4 separate regions of the Homo sapiens genome follow, and all the other regions are linked to region 4. The links are contacts of gene promoters, found by promoter capture Hi-C in blood cells and fetal thymus (Javierre and others, 2016). All regions are on one chromosome and are shown on one strand. The core of a region is centred on a gene start or on the middle of the fragment in contact, and the rest is flanking DNA. Distances in the headings are between cores, read along the strand shown.

The links. The method cuts DNA at HindIII sites, captures the fragments that hold promoters and counts their contacts. A CHiCAGO score of 5 or more calls a contact.
Region 1: a fragment that was not itself captured here is called in contact with the fragment with the promoter of COMMD3 in region 4 in 1 of 17 cell types (megakaryocytes); the score reaches 5.7 in megakaryocytes.
Region 2: a fragment that was not itself captured here is called in contact with the fragment with the promoter of COMMD3 in region 4 in 2 of 17 cell types (fetal thymus and neutrophils); the score reaches 5.6 in fetal thymus.
Region 3: a contact is called between a fragment that was not itself captured here and the fragment with the promoter of COMMD3 in region 4, in 1 of 17 cell types (activated CD4 T cells). The highest score is 5.5, in activated CD4 T cells.

Annotation. Positions count from the first base shown.
Region 1 is chr10:21,975,953-21,979,390 of GRCh38, forward strand. The region is part of intron 1 of DNAJC1 (DnaJ heat shock protein family (Hsp40) member C1); the gene reads right to left. Among named protein-coding and RNA genes, the nearest start is that of DNAJC1, 26 kb to the right of the region's middle. The HindIII fragment of the contact is 406 bases long and covers 1,702-2,107 here.
Region 2 is chr10:22,719,054-22,722,297 of GRCh38, forward strand. No RefSeq gene overlaps it. Among named protein-coding and RNA genes, the nearest start is that of PIP4K2A, 6.1 kb to the left of the region's middle. The HindIII fragment of the contact is 830 bases long and covers 1,372-2,201 here.
Region 3 is chr10:22,652,073-22,655,281 of GRCh38, forward strand. The region is part of intron 1 of PIP4K2A (phosphatidylinositol-5-phosphate 4-kinase type 2 alpha); the gene reads right to left. Among named protein-coding and RNA genes, the nearest start is that of PIP4K2A, 61 kb to the right of the region's middle. The HindIII fragment of the contact is 9,843 bases long and covers 1-3,209 here.
Region 4 is chr10:22,315,102-22,318,190 of GRCh38, forward strand. COMMD3 (COMM domain containing 3) reads left to right here and starts at 1,287. Exons shown (of 8, transcript NM_012071.4): 1 at 1,287-1,455; 2 at 2,783-2,894; 3 at 3,004-3,067. The coding sequence starts at 1,317. COMMD3-BMI1 (COMMD3-BMI1 readthrough) reads left to right here and starts at 1,287. Exons shown (of 14, transcript NM_001204062.2): 1 at 1,287-1,455; 2 at 2,783-2,894; 3 at 3,004-3,067. The coding sequence starts at 1,317. RefSeq lists a silencer at 1,145-1,264 and an enhancer at 1,535-1,834. The HindIII fragment of the contact is 1,853 bases long and covers 1-1,833 here.

The DNA.
Region 1 (3,438 bases), core at 655-3,154, 340 kb before region 4:
TTATGGGAAAATTAGGGAAAGAGTAACATATTTAGATGGGCAAAAATATAATAGGGAAATCTTAAAATGCACTGAAGAGGTCCATAAATTAGCTGCTGCATAAGCAGCTTTATCTATATTACAGTTTATTACTTTTAAGAGAAACTTTGAATCTTGAAGGACCATACAATAAGATTTTTTTTCAAAAGACAGTAATAGATTTATTGCTGGAAACTGTATTCATCTTCCTGATTCCAAAATACAGTCATGTATCTTCTTTATCCATATTTGAGAACCAGGATCAAATTTTTACATAGCCTACAAAATCTAGAAAAGTATATACCAACCAGGCATGCAACATTTGGTAATGAACATATTGTAAAATGTTGGCATATGTAAAAGGCTTTGATTCTATGAGGTAGGGCCAATAATAAAAGCATGTGATTGTTCAGTCGTAAACTAAGGCAATCCATACAAACATTTATTAACTGTTACACTGTCTTTTCCCTACTACCCACAGGTCCTGAAAGTACCAACATCATCCCACTGTCATCTGAAATTACATGCCACATCTTCTTCTGGCCAGTTATTTGTCACTGAATCTTTGTAGTAATAATTCCTAAGACGCTAGTCAAATAATAGGAAAATGCCAACAGACCATATTAGTGGGGGAGAGTTAAAAGGAATATGTACATACTGTATTTCTTAACCCATCAAAAATCAACAGAAGTCTGAAAAGGTTACCCTTGCATTTTAGGAGTAAGCGATGTTTTCCAGTTCTGTTTTTTTTCTCAGCTCTTCCCACTAAGCAACAAAACGCAAACGAGCTAGAGAATTCTGCCTTCCTTATGCTACAGAGGCTATGTTTAATGACTCCTGTGGCCATGTTAAAATCAGTGGAGGAAGAGACAAACACTGCAGCTTCTGCCTTTCTCTAAGTCTTCTTGAATGCCGCCGGCCCACCCACTAGGCTCCCCTATTTCTCTTTTCTTCCGTAACAACAACAGCACAAACATTGCAAAAGCAACCAATCAAAACAAGTAGCATCAGTAAAGGGGCAATGGGGCCAATGGTAAGCAACAGAAGCAAAAAGCAGTGACAGTCTCCAATTTGCTCTCATCAATGAGTCAGAGCATACTAAGGCTTCTTTGTACGTAGGTAGAGAACATGGTGGACACTCACACTGCTGGCCTCTTACTCTCCCGGCAATTCTCACAAACACAAAAGTAGAATCCTAGGACTCAGTACTTAAATACCAGAACAACATTCAAGACCTTATCTTAGCAATTTTTTAAAAAGAAAACTACCACACTTAAGAAATGAAAAAAACACACACACACACACAAAATGACTATGCAAGTAAACTTTTATTATGTAGCTAAAAGCTGCAATTTAGATAGTCTAATTAATCTACAAAGCTCAGTTTCTATAAAACAACTATTAGCAGGTTTTCTTCAAGAATTTACTCCTTATTTTGTAGACATCCACGTGAACTAAAATATGAATCAAAATAACAACTCTAAAGGAGAAATAATTTCCCAAAGTAGTAATTACTAACTAAACCCAAGAAAAGACTTGTGTGGCTTAAAGAAGTACAGATATCTCTCTATTTATAGGCTGAACACCCTAATTCCAGAAGCCAATTTTGAACTTGAGTTTAGAATTGATTCCCAGTGCAGGGGACCAAAATATACATGCCCAGGCGCCAACAGTCAATTATTAAGCTTTTTTCACATTAAATAAAAGAAAAACATCTTAACACATCCAATACATATTTAAGTTAAGAGTCAGGAGGCTTATGTTATAGTGCAACCCTGCATATGAACATTATATTATTTTAAATCCCCACTTCCCCACCTGGATAGTGAGGGTTCCTAATCAGTGTTTTCTCTCTTTTGGAAAGCTGATGTGATTGTCTAATATAAAAATTCTTTGAAAAACCTACAGAAAAATAATAAGTAAATTTCTTTTCAAAGTGACAAGGGAAAAAAAATCTATGCCCAAGATATTTTTCTACATTTGTACATCAAACCAATATTTAGATGATATTTAACAGCAAAAAGTTTTTTAACAATAAGAATGTCTGTTTTTTATATAGGAGCATTTGACTTATTTTGTAATTTAGATAAGCTTCAATAGTTTCTCTTCCTAAAGCTCTTTCACTCCTCACAAGTTCTTCCATCTATCTCATTCCTCATCATCCAAATATATATAGATTTTTCTTAACTTTTTAAATAGGTAATACAATATTCAAAAAGTACTTATGAACATAAAAGTTCCTGGCAACCAGTCACCCAGAAGCACATCTCCATCAAGAGGGAAATTTGAACAGAGGGAGAGAGAAACATGCAACAACATGCAAACTCTTTAAGAATTTCCATTATTTCTTGAAGCAACATTTTGTAGAACTAATACACTGATAAAGTATAGAATTTGAAAGCCTCTCCTTTCAGTAAAGTGGGAAAGTCGATTAGCAAGTGAAAAGATTGGCTCAGAACCTAGTAAGACAGGGGTCAGCAATTTCTTAAGCTTGAAGTGCTTTCAGTAAAGCCAGACAATGCTAGGGAATAGCACACACAGGCCTAGTATTTACAGACAACATGTGGCAGTCTATCAGTTGATTACATTTTGTCTTCCAATACTATCAAATTATTTCCTGTATGTAAAAGGCAGGAATCCTACATTTCTGTCAAAGATTCCACAAAACCTGGCAGTGCTAGTGACTACTAAAGTAGATGAAGAAGTAGAATGAGTCACAGGAAAAAGAGGGAAAAGACTGGAAACATACACAAACTTCCCACAAGAGCTGATACAAGACCCAAGAATCCTAAGGTAAAAATACTTTTAAAAACTGTATCATGAAGCCACCATTTATTCAGAGTCTGTAAATTCAGTAAGTGATATGTTTATACAATGTTATCAGAAACATCTAAGGCTATAAAAAATACATATATAGGAAATACCGACTCTGGCTAAACACACTGTCACTGAGGTGTAATCGGTTACTCAGATTATTACAGATTAATTACCTCTATGACTTTTTTAATTTGAATGATCTTATATACAATTAGTAAACAGCGGAATGATATTCTTATAATGCAGAGTTAGGTATGTAAGTTCGACTTGATTTTTTTTTCCCCTGGCACATTCATTTTTTTTTAATGATCCAAGATAAGTTTTCTTGCAATTAAAGACAAAACCTTAGTAAAATATGAAGATCTTTTAAAAAAAACCAGCTAGAAATCTATTAGACGTGCCTTCTATTAATATAAGTAGTAGCTGGTTTTGTGGCTTCAAGAACTTCTATGGTTTCTACTATGTAAAGCTATCTGATCAATCTCTGAGTGCAGCTCAAGAAGCTGCAAAGACATTTCCTTCATTTTCAAAAGGGCTCTTATCTGAATCATATGTATTTTTATTCAACTGATCTAAAGAATCTATATCCCAAATAAGGAAGCA
Region 2 (3,244 bases), core at 537-3,036, 400 kb after region 4:
AATTCTCAAATTGTATGCATTCGATAGACAATTGATATCTAGAGAAATGTAATAAGTAATTTCTTGGGCAATAAGAAACTTTGAAGGCAAGGACCATGGTGTACCCACTTCTAGGGCGTCTCAGTGAACCCTGAATACTCCCTTTCCCATAGCACCCGTGGTGAAATTTTGGTGAATAAAGAAAAAAGGAATATTTTATCTCTCATAACAAAGTTACATGTAAAGTTTGCGTAGCCAGAAAATGTTTTGTGCAAGGTTCCATTCAGAAATACTTTGTTAGGAAATTAGGCTAGACATAATATTTAAACTCGAGGGCTAGATACTACATGCGGACTTAGCCACCTAGCAATTTGATCGCTGTTTTCCTTTGGGGTTTGCATGCTAATGAGACAAAGTGTATGTCCTGCTTGTTCTTGGTTCAGCCCACCTGGTTCAAGCTGCTTACCTTGTCAAGCTGCCAAACCATCAACATTCGCCAAAGGTCTGGAAGAGAGGCATAGATCTTCCTTCTCTAGGAGGAAGATCAAGGGAGTGTGACTTCAAGAAGAGCATGTGGTTGTGTCAGTCAAGAAGAATGCCATGCCCTCCTCAACAGCCACATCCTTTTGCATTTGGCCTGGTGGGATGTTACACATCCAGATGGCAAAGCCATCACAAATGGAAGAAAGGCTCCAGCAGCCAAGTTCACTAAGAAGAAAGAAGGACATGTCAAGAAGATTTAAAACGTTCCCAATACTGACTTGGTTTTATTTATTTATTTATTTATTTATTTATTTATTTATTTATTTCTGAGATAGGGTCTCACTCTGTGCCCCAGGCTGGAGTGCAGTGGCATAATCATGGCTCATGGCAACCTCAACCTCCTGGGCTCAAGTGATCCTCTTGCCTCCCACCTCCCTAATAGCTGGGACTACAGGTGCACACCACCATGCCCAGCTAATTTTTGTATTTTTTTGTAGAGACAAGGTCTCACTGTGTTGCCCAGGCTGGTCTGGAACTCTTGGCCTCAAGTGATCCCCGTCCTTCGCCTCCCGAAGTGATGGGATTATAGGCGTGAACCACTGTGCCCAGCCCCCAATACTGACTTGTTTATGCTTCTTGTTGTTGTGGTTTTGTTTTTGCTTACATTTACTATAATCAACTTTATTTAGTATCTTTATTTAGTATAAATAACTTTATTTAGTATAAAACTACATGGTGTAAATATTATGTTGCCTAAGGTATACAAGACCAGAAGTAGAGGTCGAATAGGGTAGATGCTCTGATTTTTTATATTACCCTTTTTAATAAAAAAATACTATCAATCGAATAATTCCAATTCTTCCTTGAGAAAAGGGAAGTGGTAGCTTTTTTGACTTAGTGCTATTTGGAAGCTTTGTGCTTTTCCTTGCTTTATGAAAAGATCAGAGCAAGATGTGAGACAATTCCATTCATCCTTCTACAATGTCACCTTGAGCTTTGCCATGCAAAATTATTATGTTGGAAGACCATTCTTAAAGTGCATAAGCTGTCAAATCTAGCCAAAAGGCAATAAGTAAGCTACAAATGCAATAAATGGGCTCTAAAAATTCAACTGTGACAAGTGAGTTACTTTTGGGGGGATAAGCTATTGACATGATGCAGCACAGCTTGCTTTCTGGGAGTTCCAGGGGTCTGGCTAAACTTCCTGGACTGGCTGTGGTTTGGTGCCAGCCAGTTGGGGTTTTCCACTCCAATTTAAATATCGATGGTGATTCTTCTGGCTTCTGTAGCTGGCTGGGACTTCCTGGACAGTGGCAGCCATTCCAGGAATCTACCAGTTAGTTGACTCCTGTCTGGTTAGCCTGACTTGGGGAGATTGGACTGGGAGAAGATGGAGTAAAAAGCAGGTAATGCGCAGACTAACCATTCCCCAGACCACCCCACCTTCTCCACTCCCCAAGCAGCAACATGAGAACTTGAGCTAGCCTCCCCCGCTGGAAGACAGGAAGCTGTGTGAAGGACATTATATCTTGATCATATATATCTTTATATATATATGAAAGTTTTCTTTATTATAGAAATGGAAATTTCAACATTGGGAGATCACATGGCAGGATATAATGCATCCAATAAACATGATATTTTCACAGAAAATGTAATGACATAAAATAATCATGATATTAATATAAGTGAAAAAATAGGATACATATCATATATATGCTATGGTTTTAATAGCACAAAGCTTTTTTTAAAAAGCACAAAGCTTCCAAATAGCACTAACACCTATAATCTCTGCACTTTAGGGGGCCATGGTGGAAGGCTCTCTTGAGGCCAGGAGTTCAAGACCAGCCTGGGCAACACAGCAAGGCCCTATCTTTACAAAATAAAAATTAAAAATTTTTAAAAAGTAAAAAGTGTATTATAAAATGTGTGTGCATGTAAAACACTGAAAGAAAACAGAGCATACTTTTGACAGTGCTATATCAGGGGTGCAGTTAGGATTATGGATGATTTTTAAAATATATTTCTGCATTTTCCAAATGTTATAAGATGCATACGTGTTACTTTTATAATTTTTTTAATGCAACTATCTTTCCTAGTTAAATAAGTAACACAGTAATGTCATTTAACATACTAACCCAATTCCAATAAGAGACCAGCATTTTCACTTGCTCCTTGCTATTTATAATAGTCGTTGTATGATTTAGGCAATGGCGAACTAAGCCTGTGGTGAACATTTTCCTATATGTAGGAAAAAGGGAACCTCCTGTGTTCGCAAAGAGTCCTTATGCAAGTTTACAAATTGTTTACCCATTGGGCATCATCTTCCCAATGCATACAGCCTATGCGTTTTTCGGGGACCTAGAAAAAATTTGAGATGTGAAAACAAAAATTTTGATTACAAAAGAAAACTGCAAAAGTGATATCAATAATAACATTTGACTAAATGTTGCCATTTATTAAATTTAAATTTAGTATTTAAAAAGTCATTACGTATATAAAGAATTTGTGAGTTAGCTTTTCTTATGTTACAAGTATGCATAATGATTGATAAAAAAGATAGTAAATAGTCAATCAAAAATTAAATGTTTGGCTGGACGTGGTGATTCATGCCTGTAATCCCAGCACTTTAAGAGGTTGAGGTGGTAGGATTGCTTGAGCCTAGGAGTTAGAGACCAGCCTGGGCAACATAGGGAGACCCTGCCTCTATAAAAAATAAAACATTATCCAGTCATAGTGGTGTGTGCCTGTGGTCCCAGCTACTCGAGGGACTGAGGTGGGA
Region 3 (3,209 bases), core at 363-2,862, 340 kb after region 4:
TGTTGAATAACCACTAATAGTCATGAAATAACTGAAAAACTGCACACAAATTTTTTTTTTTTTGAGACAGACTCTTACTCTGTCACCCAGGCTGGAGTGCAGCGGCATGGTCTTGGCTCACTGCAACCTCTGCCTCCTAGGTTCAAGCCAAGCGATTCTCCTGCCTCAGTCTCCCGAGTAGCTGGGACTACAGGTGCGCACCACCATGCCTATTTTTTTGGTATTTTTAGTAGAGACAGGGTTTCACCATGTTGCCCAGGCTGGTATTGAACTCCTGACCTCAAGTGATCCGCCTGCCTCATCCTCCCAAAGTACAGGGATTACAAGTGTGAGCCACCATGCCAGGCCTCAATTTTTAACTATCCACTTTAGCAACTGTCTGATAATAAAACACTGAATTGTGACATTTTGAGACATCTCCCTCTGCAAAGCAATGTCTTCGTAGTAATCAACACTGTAGTTATAATAAATCTAAGACATAACTGAAGTCAAAGTACCTGTAATTATCTAGCATATTATTTCACAGGCTGAAGGTACATTTGCTTTTAAAATACGCAAATGTGTATTAAAACCAAAAATTTAAAGTCTGTCACTGTGTGGTAAATTCATCTTGCAACTCAGGTTACACAAACATCTAAGTTAAGAAATGTTATGTTCTTAATGAAAAATACACAATGAATTCCCAACTGAAAACGCTGCTCCTTGTTCTGGTTCAATGCTGCTTGAAACGTTTATGAAGGGTCCATCGCAGTGGCTCACGCCTACAAGCCCAGAGCTTTGGGAGGCTGAGGCTTGAGGATCACTCGAGCCCAGTAGTTTGAGACCAGCCTGAGTAACATAATGAGACCCCCATCTCCACAAAACCACAAAAATAAGCTGAGAGTGGTGGTACACACCTTCAGTCTGAGCTGCTCAGGAGGCTGATGTGGGAGGATGGCTCGAGCCCGTAAGTTTGAGGTTGCAGTGAGCTATGATGGTGCTGCTGCACTCCGGTCTGGGCAACAGAGTATCTCAAAAAAAAGAAAGAAGGGTTTATGAGAAAGGACCACCCCCGGGGGTATGAATCATACTGTACACTAAGTTAAGGGCCACTCTACCAAAGACAACTCTAAGAAGAAAAATAGTTTCAAAGAATAAAGAAGAAGATATGGAAAAGGTGAAAACTCCTCCCCTCTTGCCTCAGGTGGGGGGCAGTACGTGGGAGGTAAGGAAATGAAGGAAGGCAGTGCATGACAGCCAAGCCAGGCCACTTCCTTCCTTCTCCTCCACCTCTTTCTACCCAGTGTCACACTGCAGGATACCGTAAGACCCTGGGCCACTTACTCTAAAACTTCAACATCTCTTTGTCTTCCTGACAGTTTCACTGGGGAAAGTGAACTGTCAGCAACAACAGGCTCACCTTCCACTCATCTTAATCTTTCTCTTAATGATTCAATTCAGCAGATGCACACTGGGAAGGCAGGGGAGGCAGACAGAAGAAAGGAGGTAGGGCCCTGGTGCTTTGGAATTTCCAAAATTGCTCAGTCCATCCTACGCACCTAAAGTTAGTGGAGATTTGGGATCGGGCATGGTGGCTCACCCCTGTAATCCCAGCACTTCGGGAGGCTGAGGTGGGTGGATCACTTGAGGCCAGGAGTTCGAGACCAGCCTGGCCGGCATGGCGAAATCCTGTCTCTACTGTAATCCCAGCTACTCGGAGGCTGAGGCAGGAGAATCGCATGAATCCAGAAGGCGGAGGTTGCAGTGAGCCAAGATTGCGCCACTGCACTCCAGCCTGGGCAACAGAGTGAGACTCCATCTCAAAATAAATAAATAAATAAACAAAATTAGTGGAGATTTGGGAAAGGTCTGTATTCTGAAGAACTGGCAATCTGCAGATCGGTGTTAATACCAAGAGAAAACAGCTGCTGTCTCTGAAGTGCCCAAGCATTTTATAAACAGTGGTTTTTTGGTGAGTGCAGCAGTGTCTCTCCTCACTATGGGGCTTAGATTTAATAAATGGACGAAAGGAAACCCTGCAGTGAGGGGTTCTGGAATGGCAATGACTTTGCTGGCCGCAGATGCCCAAGGCCATTAATATTTCCAACTTAATTTTGAAAAACACATGTTTCCGTAAATTTTTCAGGAAAATTTAATCTCATAATTTTTAAAAATGCTATGAAAATATTCAAGGTTGAATTATTTTATTTCCTCAAGGTGAGCTGGACACTCACTCAGATTAAACTTCCCCCTAGCAGAAATATCCACTATTAAGGAAATGAAAAACACAGCTCTCACTTTCCAAGAATTTACCATGTGTGGAGAAAAAAAAGACGTGTAAAAATAGATACTCAGAGTGGGCAAATGATCCAAATCGTAAGTACAAAAAGCTAAAAATTGGAGAATCTTAGTAACAACGACATCTGTGAAAGGCGTTCTTAACATGGGCTAAGATTTCAGGATCAAAAGGGCAACAGAAGGGAAAGGGGTTAATAAGACCAAACAGTGCTAGTGAAGCTGTCGCTGAGAAACAATGTCTTCAGAGACAGGTGAGTTTTAAAGTGATTCAGGGGTAGTCAAGTGTGCATTCCCAAGAAAGGGTCTGGTCCAGCTGCTGGTCATGGTGGGGAAGCCCTGCAAGCTGGAGTTGGGAGACCAGGGTTGTATAATTCTGGGCAGTTAACACCTCTGAGCCCTCCCCTCACATATTTTAATAGGGATGATGGCATCATCCAGCTATATCTCAAGGCAGCAAATGAGATGTGTGCGACTGCTTTGAAACCTATGAAAGGTTTTACCTGTGAAAGTTCAAATTAAAGCAAATCAAAGAAGGCTACGGCAAAAGTGGGCCTGGGGCTTTACCCAAGGAAAATGCAGGGGACAGAAATGAGTGGACTGAAAAAACAGTGCACCAGGAGGGTGGCTCACACCTATAATCCCTACTTTAGAAGGCCAAGGAGGGAGGACCACCTGGGGCCAGGAGTTTGAGACCAGCCTGGGCAACAAAGTGAGACTCTGTCTCTAAAAAAGAAAATTTAAAATTTAAAAATGAAAATGGAAAAAGGAAATTGTGCCTCAAGAGGCAGGACAGAGGACATACACAAGGTAAATTGATAGAAGCCCTGGGATACCACCAGGTGGAAAAATAACAATTTGACTCAATTGAAACACTTTGCAAAATACCATCTCTAAGGCAGAGGTCTGAAGATTTTTAAGAAAAGCTGAAGCTC
Region 4 (3,089 bases), core at 37-2,536:
GTAGTTACTCAATCTGTTACTGATGCTTACTCCATTTGCATCCTGTTGTGAAATGAGGTACACTTTATGTATTGGTGCCAAGGTAAATGTCAACTGTATCCATCAAAAATTTTTAAAACAGACATCTAAGTTAGAAAAAGAAAATAATGTTTCACTTTGGGTCTAATGTTGCAAATAATCGCTCCTGAAGACTAAAACATCTTTGTTGTTCCGCATCCCTTCCCTCCACCCTTCAAGAACTTGCATTTTTTAACTTTTCAAGTGCTTTTGATTAAAAATACCTAATCTACTTTGCTTCACGGGTTTTTTAAAGAATCATTCTTGTTCTCTAAACCAACTTCGTAGAAATAGAGAGGAAGTTAAACTTTATACAGTATTTGAATCTTTAAAGGTATGAGCATCCTAAACAGTAACTCACTTCTAATAAAGATCTTGCCATTCCTAACTGTACTTTACTAAGGTAGCTGTTTAATAAAAACGTATTTATGCAGATTCTATAGAGCAACTAAAACGGGACCCATAGATGTGGTGAGTAGCACAAAATGTGTATGGCAGTTGGCTTTATTTGCAGCGGCATATAAAATTGTTAATAATCCTGTCAAATCTGTTCATGAATAATTTATTAATCCGATTGCTGGAGTGCAGTGCATACAGGAACTCTATGTATGCGTGCATGTGTACACACCCCCCATGCAGGAAGGACACTACTGCCGTATTCCAGAAATGACAAAAAAAAAAAAGTAAAAATAAGCAAGAATCACATAATTAGATGTCTTACAGTCTCATAAAAGGGCAGTGCTGCGAGGTTAAGCTGGTGAGCTAAAAAACAAACAAAACAAACAAAAAACCACAAAAGCAAAATCCAGTTGCCTGAGATCGGAGCTTCCCGCAGGATTCGCGCAGAGCGAGGAGCGGGGAGGACGCCGTTTGCGGGAGGCGGGGGCCGGGATCCCGACACCGTCCGCAGTCTCCCCGGGGTCTCTCAGGGAACCGAGCTGGTGGCCGTCCGAGGTAAGCGCCGAACCAAGGAGAAAGCGCCGAGCGCGTCCACAAAACGCCCGAGGCCGCCCTTCTCGCCAAGGCTCGGCAGCTCCCGCGGCCTGCGCTGGACAAGCGAGAGCTGGACGGAAACGGTGGGAGGCCGTAGGCGGCGGCTGGGGGCGCGGGACCCGCGCGCGGGCGCGGAGGCGGGCGGGGAGGCCCCGCAGCCCGCGCCGCCGCCAGCCGCCCCGAGCCGCGTGCGCGCGCGGCCGCATCAGCTGAGCGCGCGGCGCGTGTCACGTGGTGTGCGTGTCGAAGGTCACGGCGCGCTCACAATGGAGCTCTCGGAGTCTGTGCAGAAAGGCTTCCAGATGCTGGCGGATCCCCGCTCCTTCGACTCCAACGCCTTCACGCTTCTCCTCCGGGCGGCATTCCAGAGTCTGCTGGACGCCCAGGCGGACGAGGCCGTGTTAGGTAAGCCGCTCGGCTCGGCTCGGAGCTGGATCCGCCGGGGTGGAGGGGCGCTCGGAGAAGAGGAGCCGGCGGAGCGAGAAGGGGAAAGCCCCGGGAAGAGGAAGTCTCCGGGCTTTGCCCTTCGCTCCGGACGGAGTGTTGGGGACGTGGCTCTGCCAGGACTCGGAGCAGACTCTGAGCATTGTTTTGGCCCCACTTGGCACCTGCATAGAGCCAACTCCACGTTCCTGGCCCGGTTTCCCTCCCAGTCTCTTTGTTCTTTTGTAAAGCCGGTGTTCAAGTCTTGTTTGTGGCCTAAACATCTAAGGTGTTTAGCCTTGTCTGAGGCTGCGGCTGTTTTGACAGTTGGACTTCATCTGGGGAGCTCCCTGCAATTCAAGCTTCCAGGGCTAGGCTAGCAAAGGTTTAAGGGTCTGTTTCCGAAGTAATTACTAGGTCAGACAGTGTTGACATTTGCCAACTTAGAGCATACCTCAAGTTGCTATGATCACTCCAGCGCTCTAGTTCAGCATGTTTACACAGGTTCTACGCCTAGAACCTTAAACTATGATGCACAATACTTTGTTCCGCCCCAGTTACCAGGATGCGAGTGTCTTTTAAGCGATCCGGTCAGTGACTGCGGAGGTGCAGTGTCAGTATGGATTGAAGACATATTTTAAGACCGATCGCTTTTAGATGATTTTCTTAAATATAAATATCCCAACAATTCAAATTTTTGTTTTTTTTCTGTAGTTTCATGAACTAAACACTTGTACAAAAAGTATGAAAGTGGAAGTTCTTAAACGAAAATAGTAACCACCACCTGGGTTAATCTCAAAAAAAAAATGACTGTCAAACCCTGAAAGTACTAATATAATTTTGAAATTTGTATCTTATATTCTGAACTCATGCCCTACCTTCTACCCCCTTGATGTATTTGTTCATGGAGCCGGTTACCCTAAACTCATCATTTTTAGGATGGAAGTTTATTCTAAAATTGACACAATGTAAAATATTTATCTTGTTTTTCCTTTGAATTTACTCCAGTGTTAGAATGACCATTGCATTGTTATATTTTCTTTGGGGGCTATAATATTTTTTAATAGTAAAAATATTAAGGCAAAATAAGTTAATTGAAGCTAGTAATAGTAGAGTTCTTGTTGTGTTCTTTTTATTGTTTTTCACTTGATCTTGTTGCTCATCTCATTTACTTATAATTGACTGTCCTTATAGTTGATGTTTTTAATCTTGTTAAAGGGTTTTTAAACCCAAATTAAAATATCCTTTTTGGAACATGACTGTAAAGAATTTATTATCATAGGCATCACTGGAAGTTAATTTATTTTAGATCATCCAGACTTGAAACATATCGACCCAGTGGTTTTAAAACATTGTCATGCAGCAGCTGCAACTTACATACTAGAGGCAGGAAAGCACCGAGCTGACAAGTCAACTCTAAGGTACAGGATTTATTTAAATATCCATTTATTTTCAAATACTACCTTAATGATTTCAATTTCAGTTTTAAAAATGGAGACAGAACTTTGGCTTTTTTTTTCTTTCTTCTAGCACTTATCTAGAAGACTGTAAATTTGACAGAGAGCGAATAGAACTGTTTTGCACGGAATATCAGGTTACTTACTTTAAAATTTTTA